Regions from separate parts of the Homo sapiens genome. Here region 1 is linked to region 2. Evidence: promoter capture Hi-C in human tissues and cell types (Jung and others, 2019). All regions are on one chromosome and are shown on one strand. Each heading gives the region's core, a stretch centred on a gene start or on the middle of the fragment in contact. The rest is flanking DNA. Distances are from core to core; before and after follow the strand shown.

Evidence for each region. The method cuts DNA at HindIII sites, captures the fragments that hold promoters and counts their contacts. A contact is called where the count stands out against the background at its distance.
Region 1: a contact is called between the fragment with the promoter of NUDT18 here and a fragment that was not itself captured in region 2, in 1 of the 25 tissues and cell types used here (dorsolateral prefrontal cortex).

Annotation. Positions count from the first base shown.
Region 1 is chr8:22,106,954-22,111,536 of GRCh38, forward strand. NUDT18 (nudix hydrolase 18) reads right to left here and starts at 2,466. Exons shown (of 3, transcript NM_024815.4): 1 at 2,186-2,466; 2 at 1,180-1,393; 3 at 1-942. The coding sequence starts at 2,347. The coding sequence ends at 347. RefSeq lists enhancers at 266-410, 807-1,580, a cis regulatory region at 338 and a silencer at 2,040-2,819. The HindIII fragment of the contact is 26,002 bases long and covers 1-4,583 here.
Region 2 is chr8:22,611,366-22,616,403 of GRCh38, forward strand. CCAR2 (cell cycle and apoptosis regulator 2) reads left to right here. Exons shown (of 21, transcript NM_001393997.1): 8 at 1,652-1,771; 9 at 2,727-2,949; 10 at 3,025-3,138; 11 at 3,473-3,636; 12 at 4,060-4,231; 13 at 4,317-4,547; 14 at 4,647-4,883. Among named protein-coding and RNA genes, the nearest start is that of CCAR2, 9.1 kb to the left of the region's middle. The HindIII fragment of the contact is 7,299 bases long and covers 140-5,038 here.

The DNA of each region.
Region 1 (4,583 bases), core at 1,216-3,715, 510 kb before region 2:
CCTGGAAGGATCAGAATGCAGGCCTTTCCCAAGGACGGCACAGAACGTGATGAGGAGATGCCACTGGGGGTGCAGAAAGCTCCCCATCCCCCTGGGAAGAGGCGTCAGCGTGCCCTCAGGGTAGTCAGGTCCTGAGCTTTGGACTCCTCGCTTGGTTAAAGGCACTGTCCCTTGTGCAATCTAGAGGAATGCTCCTCAAAGCATCTCTCCTGGGGACCAGGAGAGCCGCCCCTGCTCCCAATGCAACAAGATCCCTGATCGCCAGCCTCTTGCCTCCCTCAGAGGGAGACAAGTCCGCACTGGAGGGAGCACGGCTGCCTAGCTCCCTGTCACCTCCCCCACCTCTCTATCTGTTCACTGGGACAACAGAGGATCCCTGAAGCCGCTGGAGGAGCTGGCTTTGCAGGTCTTCCTCCATCACCTTCCACCAAGAGAAGTTCTCACCCCGAACTTTTGGGGGTTCATCCTGGATCCCTGGGCTCCGAAAAGCCACGGTCACCAGCACATTCAAACAGATGCCATCACTGTGATCTCGGCCCAGGTGCTGCAGTCCAAGCAACCCCTTGATCTCCACCACCAAGTGGTGCAGGGTCAGACACTCCTGCAGCAGCCGCAGGACGGCCATCTTCATGCCACCCCTCTGCTCCATAGGGTCGAGGCCACAGGCAGTGACAGGCAAGTGAGGCATCCCCACTGTGCCCACTAACACCCACACTGTCTGGGCGCTGGTAAAGGTAGCCACGAGCCGCTGGCAGACCAGATCACAGGGTAGCTCTTGGGGCAGAATGAGAGGGTGCCTGGCTTGCTGGCGATACTGGGCGGCTAGTTCAACCAGGTGCAGGATGTCATGGGCTCGCAGCGGAGTGGGCAGGGAGGTCCGTGGGTACCAGGCAGCCTGCAGGGACTCCGCATCGGCCTCCTTGGAAGTCTTGAGAATTCCACCTGGGGGAGATGTGGGGGATGGGGCAGGGAGGGTCTGTGTGGAGAGAAGTGCAGCTCTGGCAGAGTCAACAGACATCCCTGACCCAGGAGAGAGGCCCCCAGCCCAAAGGCTGGAATCTGCCCATGCCAGGCTGTGCCAGCCATAACAGGACTGGCTGTAGAGGGGCTCACCTCACCGAGGAGCTGGGGGAAAGGTGTCAACTGGCCCTGTTCACACTGCCTCCAGGTGGGCCATACCTGTGGGGCGAGCGAGGAACACGAAGCGGACCCAGGAGGGGCCCCGCTCCTCCACGGACAGCAGTGTCTCGGGCTCACAGTGCAGCCCCGCCTCCTCCTTCACCTCCCGCTGCAGCGCCTCCACGATGGTCTCCCCTGGCTCCATTCTCCCCGCAGGCAGGTACCACGACCCCCGGCACTCCCTCTTGGCCTCCTGGATCAGTAGCACCTCATCCTGAGAGGAGAGAGGATCCTCACTTCCTGCCACAGCCTTCCCTCGCCCCGGGACCAGGGGGCATCTCAAACACAGTCGCCCAAGACTCCCCTCTGGGTGGACACTCTCAACCCAGCTAGCGCTCCAGGAGACCTGCCCTCGTGTCGCTGGGGGCTGCAGCCCTCTCCTCTCTGCAATTCGTCTCTCTCTGGATTTAGGAAGACTTCCATTTCAGGAAGGGCTGAGATTCCTGGAAGCCGCTTCAGGGGCTGGAGATGAGGCCCCAGAGTGAGGGTCACCATGTGTCTGTCTGTCTTGGATTGATTTGCGTCTGTACCTGCCACTGTGTATCTCTCGCCTCCAACGGCGTGGTTTACAAACTGTGATGGGTCCTCACACTGGGGTCTGGCTTGAAACACGACCCCCACCTCCGCTCTGTACAACCCCGCCCTATGGCCCTGGCCCCGTCTAGTTGTCATTACATCGCCCACTACAGGCATCAGCACCAAAGGCCTGAAGGTAAGCCGGGATTGAGCCACTGCTATCTGAGGGGCCCTGGGCACTCCGCTAGACTCTGGGGAAGGGAAGGAATGAGGCCTAGTCGGATGAGACAAACAGGCCCCGGGCCTCAGTTTCCTCTTCTGCATATCGGGACGAACGCAGGACACAGATGCGAGTGGGAGTGGGAGTGCTTTGCAAAACTGGGAAGCGCCACGCACGCGGCAGCGCTGGCTGTGGCCGTTGGGTCTTCTGTCCCCACCTGGGCTGGCTGCGCGCTCCCGAGGCCCGGCGGGCCCGGGGGCGGCCGCTCACCTGCTCGCTGAGGAACACGGCCAGCACCACGTAGCACACGTTCTTCCGCAGCCGCACGGGCGCCGGCGGCTCCCCGGCCGGCGCCGAGTCGCAGCTGTGCACGCTGGACCCCTGGCCAGCCAGCACGGAAGCCAGCGCCCCCGCCAGGCCCTCCGAGGCCATCGGGTCCCCCGGGGGGCGGCGGGCCGGATCCTCGCAGACCGACTGAGCCGAGCCGCGGGCTAGAGTGCGCTGCGGAGCCCGCTCCCAGTCCCTGCGGCAGCGGGCCGGGAGCTCACGAGAACGCGGAAGCGCACGCGAACGCGGAAGCGCACGCGAGCTCTGGCCGCTGATAGGCTGCGCGGCGCCGCGGCCTGCCCGGATTGGCCGGCCCGCGGCATTCACCGAGGGGGCGGGGCCGCCCGGGGCCGCCCTGGAACTGGGGGGGCACGGGTCCGGAGCCCAGCGGACCCCGCCCGGCTTCTGCCGCCTGTCAGTCCCGTGCGCTCGGGACGTCTCCCAGCCGCCACCCGCTCGCCAACTCCCCGAGCGCGCACTGGTCTGCAGGAGCTCCGACGGTGACGTCATCTTTCCTGCAGGGCGCGTTGCGCCGCCGGGGTAGGCGACGGTGACGCGACAATCCGGTGACGTCACGGAGGCCCGGGGCCGCCCCCTGGAACCACTGTCCCGCTGTTGCCGTAAACACACAATGGCATTGCCGGAGTTGATCATATCCCAAATACCTTTCTTCTCATTCCACCAAAGAGTTATAAATGTCACATGGCCCGTGGGGTGGGGGACATAAACCCCTGCCTTGAAGGAGATTCTGCAATAGTTGGAGAGATGGACGGAGTCCTAGATGAGGAGTCAGCTGAGGGTTCGAGGCTAAGTGCTAAATGCTTGGTTTGGGCAGGAAGAGTGACAGGCGCTGGAAGGAGGGAGGGGGCAGGGCTGGGGATGGCGGGAGGGGTCCGGGGCTGAGAGAAGGCTGCCGTCAGCCGGCCCACCCTCATCAGTGTCCCTCTGCCTACCGCATTTCCCACGCAGCTCAAGGCCCTCTCTGCTGCAGATGGTGCGCCCTGGGAGGGCGGGGGTGGGGCCCTGCTCCTCCATCCTTGTCGTCACCCTCCCACCCAGCGTGCAGGACCTGGCGCGTGGAGAGCAGGGTGGGGGTGGTTGTGGCGAGCGCCTGCTCCTCTCCCAGCTCGGCCTTTCCTCCTTCACCCCACCTCAGCACTGGAAGGCAAAGCCAGCTGGAAGGGATCTGCGAAGCAGGCCGTCTGGCTCCTCACCTGGCAGAGGCCACCCCTTTCCTCTGCCTCTGATAGTTTTGTGCGCCTCCCTGCTAGGGAGACTGTGGCTTGGTGGTGTGGACAAAGCTCAGGACCTGCAGCCAGATGGCCAGCCACTGCTGACTGGCTTGCTCTGTGCTCCTGGGTGAGCTGTGGGCCTCAATTTTCTTATTTGTAGAGCAGGATCATAGCAATTCTTCTTTTACAGGGGTGTTGGGAAGCCACAACAATTGGAGAGGAGCTGTGTGGATTGTCCAGCACTGGGCACCGTCCCCAGGCAGCCCACCAACCCTCAGGGGTGGTCCCTCTCCACCATAGCTCTTGCTACCACACGCAAGGCCTGCCCTCATGAAATGTGACTTTTGTTATCCCCTAGAGTCAGGGTTTCACTGTGTTGCTCAGATTGGAGGTGCAGTGGCGTGATCACAGCTCCTACTGCAGACTTGATCTCTTGGATTCGAGTCATCCTCCTGCCTCAGACTCCTGAGTAGCTGGGACTGCAGGTGTGCACCACCACGCCTGGCTAAATTTTTAATTTTTAATTCTTTGTAGAAACGAGGGTCTTGCTGTATTGCCCAGGCTGGTCTTGAACTCCTGGCCTCAGTGATCCTCCCACCTTGGCCTTCCAAAGTGCTGTGGTTGCAGGCATGAGCCACCATGCCTGGCGAAATGTGCCTGTAGAGCTGCCTTAGAACTGGACTCAGGAACTTCAGCAACGCAGGATGCATCTCTTTAGGCTCCTCTCACCTGCTGATACTGACCACAGGCTCCCTGGAGGCAGGGCCCTGTGTTAGGCTGTGGGATATCACTAGAAGGCCCATGAATTTTGAGGCACTTGCTGAACGCCGCTGGGCCAGGCCCTATCATGGACCTCTCACCTTCCAAATAACTGCAGGCACAGGACCCCAGGACTGCAGAGCAACTTGTCAACATATTTGCTCTGTGTGTGTGTGTGTGTGTGTGTGTGTGTGTGTGTGTGTGTGTGTCTTGCGGCACACACATGTGTGAATCCCTCAGTTTTCCCACCTGTGAAGTGGGGGAAGTTGGACCCAGACTCCTGTCTGCCTCGCAGGGATGATTTGAGAGAGTGAGATCATGTCTAGGCAGGGATCTGGGAGCTTCAGAGG
Region 2 (5,038 bases), core at 2,539-5,038:
AAAAAAAAAAAAAAGTATATATATGTGTGTGTGTGTGTGTATGTGTGTGTATATATGTGTGTATATATGTGTGTGTGTATACATATGTGTGTGTGTATATATATATGTAAAAATATGTGTGGTTTCTACCTTCTTTCTCTTTAAAGGTAACTGTTGTTAACAGGTAGGTATTAAAGAATTTTAGAAAATAATTTTGAAAAGGAAAATCTCTTGCCACTCTTTTCTCCTGTGTTCTAGTTTTTATCTATACATGTGCATACTTTTTGCAATTTTAATCTTACAGTTCAAATTATTTTTGTGTATTTATAAACAGTTTTCCATATTGCAGCATAATCCTGAGTGTTTTAATGGCTGCGTGATTGTTTGTATTTACTATGAAAATTTGGGTATTGCTGAGTATGTATTTGGTTTTTTACTCTCAGTTTATGCTGCTTCATATTTTTCCACTATGTGTAGTCTTTCTTCTTCTTTTGAATTAACTTTCTTGGGACAAATTTTCAAGAGTGTAATTACTGGAGCAAATGGTTTGAGTGTTTTTATGACTTTAATGTGTATTATTAAGGATTTGTAACTGTCTCTCTTTTTTTTTTTTTTGGTGAGACAGAGTATCGCTTTGTTGCCCAGGCTGGAGTGGAATGGCGCGATCTCGGCTCACTGCCACCTCCGCCTCCCCGGTTCAAGCGATTCTCCTTGCCTCAGTCTCCCGAGTAGCTGGGATTACAGACGTGTGCAACCACACCTGGCTACTTTTTTGTATTTTTAGTAGAGATAGGGTTTCACCGTGTTGGCCAGGCTGGTCTTGAACTCCCGACCTCAAGTGATCCGCCCACTTCGGCCTCCCTAAGTGCTGGGATAACAGGCGTGAGCCACCGCGCCCAGCCTTGTAACCGTCTCTTCTAATAAAATTTACTTTTTTTTTTTGAGACGGAGTCTTGCTCTGTCACCAGGCTGGAGTGCAGTGGTGCAACCTTGGCTCACTGCAACTTCTACCTTCTGGGTTCAAGCGATTCTCCTGCCTCACCCTCCCAAGTAGCTGGGACTGCAGGCACGCACCACCAGGCCCAGCTAATTTTTGTATTTTTAGTAGAGACGGGGTTTCACCATGTTGGCCAGGATGGTCTCGATCTCTTGACCTCGTGATCTGCCCGCCTTGGCCTCCCAAAGTGCTGGGATCACAGGCGTGAGCCACCGCGCCCGGCCAAATTTACTTTAAAGGACGCATAGCATGGATCCATATATGCGTCTCTTGTTTTTAAAAGAAAAATCATTTTTTTCTCATTTCAAAAAAATCACGTTAACTATAATTAATGAAGTGCAGAAAAATAGAAAATTATTCGTAAGCTTTCCAGAGGCTTCCATCATTAATATTTTATTTCCTTTCAGTCTTCTAAAGTTGTTTTTGCAGTAGCTGAGGCCTACTGTGTATACAATGTTGCAGAGTGTGCTTTTTGCTTAACAGGAATGTTTATTAAAACAGTAAATATCCATTTTAATATCTTTATAACATTCTGTCATATGGCTGTTAGCATGGATTCTTTTTCCATTTATTGAATGTGAGGGATTTCGATTGTTTCCAGTTCTTTTAGTTCAGTTTGTATTGAATACATATAACAATGTGGTTTCTTACTGTTGGTGATGGGTCAACCTCTAGTGATGACTATGACTCCAAGAAACGCAAACAGCGGGCTGGTGGAGAGCCCTGGGGTGCTAAGAAGCCAAGGCATGACCTGCCTCCTTACCGGGTCCACCTCACTCCTTACACTGTGGACAGGTGAGTGGCGAGGCTGAGGTGGGCTGAGTCTTGCTGCTGGTAATAGTTTCTTATGTAAATGAGATGGCGTCTATGCAAGTGCACATGTATGTTCTTACAGCCTTTTCTTACAAAACGAAAAGCACATGGAAACCTGTTGTACATACTGTTTGGTGGTTTGCCTTTTCACTGAATGTACTTTAGATTTTATTTCGTATGAACATTTATTAGATCTAGTTCTTTTTTTTTTTTTTTTTTTTTAGCAACTACACAGTATTCATTGAATGGATGAACATGATTTATTTACCCAGTTCTCCATTTGCACTCTATCCTAAATTTTCTTGGAATGAACATCCTTCTACCTACACCTGTGTGTTTGTTGCGATCAATTTCTAGAAATGGAGCAGCTGGCTCAAAGGCTTTGCTTTAAGCTTCCATAGCTATTGCCAGTTCTCCTGAAGAGGCTGTGCCCCTTCTGCTCTAACCAGTGGGGTGTGGAGACCTTATTTCCCCGTGCCGTTGCCAACACTGTTAGCCGACTTTTTCATCTTTGTCTGTCTAGTTGGTGACACATGATAATGTGGTTTGCATTTCTTTAATTGTAAGTGAGATTGAGCATATTTTCCTGGCCTCTAATTCTTATGTATTTCTCTTAAGAACCTATTGATGTCAATTTTCCGTTTTAGGCTTTTGAACTTTTTGTTACTGATTTGTGAGTTCCTTTATATTAAGGCAATGACCCATTTCTCTGTCATGTGTTATAAGTGTTTTCTTTTTTCCCTTTCCCAGTTTGACTTTTGCCATCTAGAGTTTGTAAATTAAGTGGTCAGATCTGATCTAGCTTCCTTGAGAGGTGCCTTACTTCAAAAGTTCTCAGACTGAAAAAAAATTCGCCCATTTTTTCAAATCTTTGATGGTTTCATTTCGAATGTTTTAGTCTTTGCTCAGTCTGGATTCCCTTGCTGTCTTCCTGTAGCCCCATCTGTGACTTCCTAGAACTCCAGCGCCGTTACCGCAGCCTCCTGGTCCCCTCAGATTTTCTGTCCGTGCATCTGAGTTGGCTATCAGCCTTCCCCCTGAGCCAGCCCTTTTCCCTCCATCATCCAAGCCGGATCCAGGTCTCTTCTGAAAAGGAGGCAGCTCCAGACGCTGGTGCTGAGCCCATCACTGCAGACAGTGACCCCGCTTATAGTTCGAAGGTAAGCTGACAGGCGTCTCTCACTTATCTGATTTCTGGAGGCTGAAGGCAGCTCTGAGTGTCTCCTCCTGCACAGGTACTGCTGCTCTCTTCCCCGGGGTTGGAGGAATTGTATCGTTGTTGCATGCTCTTTGTGGATGACATGGCTGAGCCAAGGGAGACGCCAGAGCATCCTCTGAAGCAGATTAAGGTAAGAGCTGGAGAGCAGGAGGAGATGCATTCACGGGTAATGTGCACAACCTGTCATGTTTTGAGTGTTCGGCTCCTGTTCCTGAATGCATAAAACGAGGCATCTCAGAGCCGAACACCCCTCATTTCACCCAGGAGGAAGGTGCAGCTCAGAGCTGTTACGACTAGTCAGAGAGAGCGAGGTGGCTGGTTCATGTTTGCAGATAGAGACCTCACTGTGTGGTGGACTTCCCCACTTCCGGCTGCCTTCATCCTGATGGGTGGCAGCCTTGCCCTGCAGTGGGAGACCCAGGTAATGTAGTTTTTTGTTTTGTATCCCTGATCTCTTCTTGCAGTTTTTGCTGGGCAGGAAAGAAGAGGAGGCAGTGCTGGTTGGGGGTGAATGGTCTCCTTCCCTGGATGGCCTCGACCCCCAGGCTGACCCGCAGGTGCTGGTGCGTACCGCCATCCGCTGTGCGCAGGCCCAGACTGGCATTGATTTGAGCGGCTGTACCAAGTGGTGAGTGGGCTTCCTGAGCCTCAGCTGCACCAACGCACCAGGTTGGGGAGGTTTTGTTGGGAAGGCCCGGTCCCTGCCCCTTTCTGCTGGTTAGCTCTCTGCCCCCTAGTCCCGTTCCTTCCCCCTCTGGTGCCTCAGGGTAGGGTGGGGTGTATGCCAAAATCTGGCTGAGCCACCAGGCTGCACTTGAGACTCCCTGGAGTTGTCCTTGCACCTTGTAGGGTGCTTGTGTGGTTGCGGCCTCCCCACTGACTGATCATTTCTTGAGGACTTGGTCTGTAGCTTTCCTGTTGTGTCTTCAAAGCTTGGTTCGCAGTGTGTGCTCATTGAGTGCTGACTGGAAACTGAAGCCCTTGCCTGTGAACGTGGTGTCTGCGTGGAGTTGTCACTAAAGAAGTTAGTACCTCCTTTTGCCATGTGCAGGTGGCGCTTTGCCGAGTTTCAGTACCTGCAGCCGGGACCCCCCCGGCGGCTTCAGACAGTGGTGGTGTACCTGCCGGATGTCTGGACCATCATGCCTACTTTGGAGGAGTGGGAGGCCCTGTGCCAGCAGAAAGCTGCAGAGGCAGCTCCCCCAACCCAGGAGGCACAAGGGGTAAGGCTGTGCCTTAGCCAGCAGCGGGGGATATAGGTGGCCTAATCCCGGGACCCAGAGGGTCTCATTTCAGCTGTTGTCACAGGAAACGGAGCCTACTGAACAGGCACCTGATGCCTTGGAGCAAGCAGCAGACACTTCTAGACGGAACGCAGAAACTCCAGAGGCCACCACACAGCAGGAAACGGACACTGATCTCCCAGAGGCCCCTCCACCCCCCCTAGAACCTGCTGTCATCGCACGCCCTGGCTGTGTAAACCTGTCCCTCCATGGGATTGTGGAGGATCGGAGGCCAAAGGAAAGGATCTCTTTTGAGGCAGGTGTCAAGAGTCTTGGGGAGGCTGTGGGCTGGGATTTGTGGGCCTGAAGCAGTCTTTCTTCCTGATGCTCATGGACCCTCCCACCTCCCCATCAGGTGATGGTGCTGGCCGAGCTGTTTCTGGAGATGCTCCAGAGGGATTTTGGCTATAGAGTTTATAAGATGCTACTGAGCCTTCCTGAAAAGGTCGTGTCCCCACCTGAACCTGAGAAGGAGGAGGCGGCCAAGGAAGAAGCCACCAAGGAGGAAGAAGCCATCAAAGAGGAGGTGGTCAAGGAGCCCAAGGATGAGGCACAGAATGAGGGCCCGGCTACAGAGTCAGAGGCCCCGCTGGTGAGTACCCTGCCACCTCGGGCTGTCATAGTGCTTACCGTGACCGCGCACCTTTACCCCGGGCTCTGTTCCGAGCGCTTCCTGTGCCTTAGCTCATTCCCTGCACCCTTGCTCGGCATGGACTGAGGCCGCACAGCTAGTAAGTAGCACACCTA